2 separate regions of the Homo sapiens genome follow, and region 2 is linked to region 1. The links are contacts of gene promoters, found by promoter capture Hi-C in blood cells and fetal thymus (Javierre and others, 2016). All regions are on one chromosome and are shown on one strand. The core of a region is centred on a gene start or on the middle of the fragment in contact, and the rest is flanking DNA. Distances in the headings are between cores, read along the strand shown. Region 1 holds the start of MYL5 (myosin light chain 5). Region 2 overlaps UVSSA (UV stimulated scaffold protein A).

The links. Contacts are between HindIII fragments. The CHiCAGO score rates a contact against its expected background, and 5 or more counts as called.
Region 2: a fragment that was not itself captured here is called in contact with the fragment with the promoter of MYL5 in region 1 in 2 of 17 cell types (naive B cells and total B cells); the score reaches 5.6 in naive B cells.

Annotation. Positions count from the first base shown.
Region 1 is chr4:673,292-675,991 of GRCh38, forward strand. MYL5 (myosin light chain 5) reads left to right here and starts at 1,251. Exons shown (of 9, transcript NM_002477.2): 1 at 1,251-1,392. It overlaps ATP5ME (ATP synthase membrane subunit e), which reads right to left and starts at 985. Exons shown (of 4, transcript NM_007100.4): 1 at 921-985; 2 at 621-675; 3 at 12-110. The coding sequence starts at 956. RefSeq lists enhancers at 1,117-1,874, 1,752-1,821 and a silencer at 1,272-1,541. The HindIII fragment of the contact is 4,723 bases long and covers 1-2,700 here.
Region 2 is chr4:1,348,615-1,351,314 of GRCh38, forward strand. UVSSA (UV stimulated scaffold protein A) reads left to right here. Exons shown (of 14, transcript NM_020894.4): 3 at 910-1,240. Among named protein-coding and RNA genes, the nearest start is that of UVSSA, 2.8 kb to the left of the region's middle. RefSeq lists a silencer at 2,337-2,505. The HindIII fragment of the contact is 269 bases long and covers 1,200-1,468 here.

The DNA.
Region 1 (2,700 bases), core at 1-2,500:
GTCACTCGTACCTTCTGCCAATTCTCTGGCAATCCGTTTCAGTTCATCCTGCTTCTTCTTCTCTTCTGCTGCTATCCTCCTCTCCTCTTCTGCCCGAGGTTTTAGGTAATCTGTTTGGCGGAATGCAGGAGAATAAAATTCACTGGAAATGCTGTACAAAAGGAACTGAGTCCACAGGTCAAGGTATCTTCAGCGACGCTGTAAACCAGACGCACCTGCTGTTCCCGCTCTTTATGTTAATGCGAGTCAACGCCTGACCTTCACCCTGACGAGTCCAACCCAGAGGCTACAGGGCCCCTGCTGCCCACCCGCTCACGCACTGGCTCACTCGTCCTCTGCGAACAGGGACTGCCTCCCATCAAGACCTCAGCACTCGAACAGCCATTTAGCACCCGTTTTCACCAAGAAGCAGCCGTTTTCGAGTCCCCCGCCCGGGCCTCAGAAGCCTGAGCTTTGGGTGAGCTGATTCCACTATCGGGGTCACGCTCGGTGGAGGACACGGTCCTGCAGCCTCGCATGCGTCCCAAGCCCCCTTCCAGAGCTGGAGTTCTCCAAATAGCACAGGAGCTCCACAGGAAAGCCGAGCAGACCCCGCCCCGGCCCCGCCCGCGGTCACTCACTGTAGCGCGTGGCTCCGTAGGCCACACCGAGGAACAGGGCGGAGTAGCGGCCGAGCTGCGAAAGAGGTTGGTCAGAGGCGGCGCGAAACGGGGCTCGCGGGACGGGGGTCGCGGGAGGAGGGGGGGCGGGGTCGCTGGGCAGAGGTCGCAGGAGGGGTGGGGGTCCGGTCGCCGGGCGAGGGTCACGGGGCGAGGATCATGGGGGCGGGGGCCGGGGGTCGCAGCCCGCGGGGTCGGAGCTGCGGGGCGGGACACGGGGGGGCCCAGAGCACTGGGCGGCGGCTGCAAAGCCTGGATCACCTTGATGAGCGGAGAGACCTGCACCGGTGGCACCATCTTGTCCCTGACCTCCGCACCGGAAGCACAACCTGCAGACGGAGCAGGATGCCGCACAAGCCAGCAAAGCCTTGGAGGCAAAGGCGGAGCTGGGCGCACGCATGCGCCGTCAGCGGCGAGAGAGCGGGGGGCCGCGCCCCCTGGCGACCGAAGGGTGACTGCGCGCCCCCGCGCGGCGGTGACGTCACGTGAGGCGCACGCGCACAAAGGCTGGGGAGTGCGCGGAGGATCATCGGCTGCGCCTGCGCAGTTGCTGCGTGAGGCGGGATCTGCGCCGAGTGGGCGGGGGGTTTCCTTTCCCCGCAGGGCTGGGGGTCCGCTGTTTCCCCGCGCTGCTGCCGAGGCCCCGCCGTCCGCGTCCTGGCCGTGTGTCCACACCCCAGACTGCGGGCCGGGGCGCACTCTGTCTTCTTGCGCGGAGCGTCGGAGGCCTGAGGTCAGGGCGGCTCGGGCGGGTCCAGCCCCGCGGACCGCGCCCACCCGAGGGTGGCCTGGGCAGGGACCTGGGGGTCCTGGGAGCGGAGTGTGAGCCGAGTGCAGGTGGCTCCCCGGGCAGGTCCTTCTCCTACAAGGCAGTAGTGTCTGTCGCCGGCCGGGCCGCGTTGGATTCCGCGGCCCGCGGGAGCATGGCCTCCAGGCCCCTCTTCCTGCGGCTGCTCTGCCCGGGAGCACGGGGCGCCCTTCATCCCGGAGCTGGAGCTTCCTCACCCCAGGATGCCCCATCACTTCTGTCCCGAAGAGGGGCTGGGATCTTCTTGGGAAGACCAGCCCCCAACAGAGGCTGCTCCCTGGGTCCCCCGACTCCAGGCCTCAGGACTCCACGGCTCCAAGGGCCTGCCCCGGCCCAGGCCTGGGGACCACTGAGCCCCACACTGGTCTTTGCTGGCCTCTGTCCACCTCCCGGTAGCTGTGTGTCTCCCACAGCTGCCCAGAGATGGGGCCTGCGGTGCCTATGCAGCCTCCCCGCTGTGCCCGAAGTGCTGACCCGCCAGCCCCATGGACACCAGGCTTGGAGTCTAGGCAGGAGCCTGGCACCCCCTCCACGTTCTGGGTCTTCCTGGCGGCAGCCATGCTGCCCGTGCTGGGCCACCCTCGGGCCCCCTTTGGCCCCATGCAGTAGTGACGCAAGGCCTCCTGTGTCCCCTCCTGGCCCTGCACTGCTACAGGCAGAAGCAACTGGAGAACTATGGCTCGGGTCTCGCTAAGGTGCAGCATCACAAACTCCAGGACTCTTGAAGCAAGCATGGGGAGGACCCGTGATCCTGGCGGCCTGGGCTACCTGTCCGGGCCTAAGTCGCCTCTGCCCCCTCTCCTGGCTTGCTCTGGGGTCCAGGGCCTGGGCCTCTCTGGCTGAGAAACTAGGAAGTCACTGGGCTCTGTTTCCTGAGCTGGGTATACCAAGGCCAGTCCTATAGGGCAGGGGTCCCCAACCCCCAGGTGCAGACCAGTACCAGCTTGTGGCCCGTTAGGAACCGGGCAGCACAGGACGAGGTGAGGGAGCATGATTGCCCGAGCTCCACCCACTTTCAGATCAGCCTGGGCATCAGATTCCCATAGGAGCGTGAACCCTACTGTGAGCTGCGCACTTGGATCTGGATTGCGCTCTGGTGAGAATCTAATGCCTGATGAACTGAGGTGGAATAGTTTCATCCCGAAACCTTCCTCCCCAACACGGAAAAACTGTCCTCCGTGAAACCTGTCCCAGGCGCCAAAAAGGTTAGGTACTTGCTGTAGGGCCACCTGA
Region 2 (2,700 bases), core at 84-2,583, 680 kb after region 1:
TCTCTGCCGTCACCCTCAGGCAGCCAGAGATTCATGGGGGAAGCAAAACTTCCCCTCGGAGGGTGGAGCATAAGTCGAGGACACTGATTATTCTGTATCCTGTGTTTGTAAAATGGCAGTTTATAGATTGTTTATACAGTGATGGAGTGTTGACATTTTGATAGAAAATTTCAGGTCAGGTTTTGTGGCCTGCGCCAGGAAATCGAATTCGCAATGGTTTATGTGGGGTCAGGAGCTGGGAATAGGAGCATTCAGGAGGGGCTGGGAGATGTCCCGAGCTCTAGGCCTTCCTTCCTTCCTGCAGCAGGAGGCACCCAGCTGAAACAGTGTGCGTGCTGGGCGGTGTGCGTTGTGCCAGGCGGTGTGTGTTTGTGCCGGGCGGTGTGCGTTGTGCCGGGCGGTGTGCGGTTTGTGCCAGGCGGTGTGTGTTTGTGCCGGGCGGTTGGCGTTTGTGCCGGGCGGTGGGCGTTTGTGCCGGGCGGTGTGTGTTGCGCTAGGTAACGTGTGTTTAAAGAGCCAGATGGTTTGTGTTTCAGGCTTTGCTGTAATGCCTCAGTTGTGAACACAGCTGTAGATGATGTAGGTGGATAGATGGGCGACGTTCCAATGACACTTTGTGAATGAACACCGACATTTGAAGTGTATATGATTTTCACATTTCACCAAGTATTTTTTGTTTGTATTGACATTCTTGGCTTGTGGGCCACACAGAAACAGGCAGGGGCTGGGGAGGTAGATGTGGCCCTTGGGCAGTAGTTTGCAGACCCTGCTCTAGAAAAGGGGAGAATGAAGATGGGAAGGCAGTGGTGGTCCCTGCCACACGTGCGTGCGGCATCCATGCACGGAGAGTCTCCCCCCGCCCATCCTCTGCGTGTGGGGCAGTTGGGTCAGGCCAGCTCGCATCCCCAGGTCTTCAGAGGAGCAGCTGAGCCGCGCCTACCGCCTGCTGATAGCACAGCTGACCCAGGAGCACGCCGAGATCCGTCTCTCAGCCTTCCAGATTGTGGAGGAACTCTTCGTCAGGTCTCACCAGTTCCGGATGCTGGTTGTTTCCAACTTCCAGGAGTTCCTGGAGCTCACGCTGGGCACAGACCCCGCACAGCCTCTGCCGCCCCCCAGGGAGGCGGCACAGAGGCTGAGGCAGGCGACCACCCGGGCCGTGGAAGGGTGGAATGAGAAGTTTGGGGAGGCCTACAAGAAGCTTGCCTTGGGCTACCACTTCTTAAGACACAACAAAAAGGTAGGTGGGCCTGGCCCATTTTTTCAGAGACTGGTTACCTGACGTGAGGAGGGCAGACGATACCAGGGTGAAGATGCGCCTCCTGTTGAACCTAGCACAGCAGGGGCCTGCTTGGCCTTGCCTGAACACCCAGGCTGCCAGACCATCTGTGGGGTGTGGGAAAGAGGGCAGCATCTAGGGTCACGGCCTCCCTGAGAGGGGCGGCGCAGCTCTGAGAGGAAGAGCATAAGCTTTATGTGTGGGTGGAGCTGAGGCTGCATGTGTCATTTTTTATGTGCGTGTAGGAGACAAAGGAAAAGCCAAATCCAACTTTTCAGATGCAACGTTTTCTGTGACAGTGGCCCCTGGACTCTGGGACCTGTCCCAACCTTGCACTTTAAGGCTCCACCCGCACCCTACTATGGGCTCGGGCTGGTGCCTGGCATGATGAAACCCACCAGGATCTGCCACTGTGGCCTGAACCCAGCCTCATTGCCCAGACCCTACCGTGCCCCTTACCCCACCTGCCACGAAGGCTCAGTCCTCCCCAGTGCAATGACCCAGCCCTGCTGGCTTCCCTGTGTGCCCTTGGAGTGCCCTGTCTCCCAGGGTTCATGCTCAGGGTTTGTTTCAGACTCCTGGGTCCAGTCAGCAGCCTCTGCCTGCTAATGGAACAAGCACACTGCTCTCCTACCTGTGAGGTACTTGGGGTGAGAAGTCTCGTCACCTCTTTTAAGTTAGCAGACGTGCTGGCTTTCCCGGGCTCAGACAGCAGAGAGACGTGCATTGTGTTTTGTTGTAATGCACTGTGAACACCTGGGTGTGAGGGTGCACACCCACAGTCCCACTGACTCTGGAAGCCGAGGCTGGTGGATCACCTGGTCCTGGGAGTTTGAGTCCAGCCTTGGTAACACAGCAAGACCGTTGTCTCTTAAAAAAAAAAAAAAAAACTACTGTGAACTTACAGACGCATAGGGCTCTTGGCCACGCATGGGTGCTGTCTTTTGTTAGGCCTACTTGAGCTTTATCTTCCTCACATTCTGTATAGATAGCTCTAGTTTTTGTTGTTGTTGTTGATGATGTTGTTTTTGAGACAGGGTCTTGGTTTGTCACCCAGGCTAGAGTGCAGTGGCGCGATCTCGGCTCACTGCAACCTCCGCCTCCCTGGTCCAAGTGATCCTCCTGCCTCAGCCTCCCAAGTAGCTGGGACTACAGGCACACGCCACCACACCTGGCTATTTTTTGTTTTTAAGATGGAGTATTGCTTTGTTGCCCAGGTTGGAGTGCAGTGGTGCGATCTCAGCTCACTGCAAGCTCCACCTCCCGGGTTCACGCCATTCTCCTGCCTCAGCCTCCCAAGTAGCTGGGACTACAAGCACCCCCCACCACGCCCGGCTAATTTTTGTATTTTTAGTAGAGATGGGATTTCACCGTGTTAGCCAGGATGGTCTCAATCTCCTGACCTTGTGACCCACCTGCTT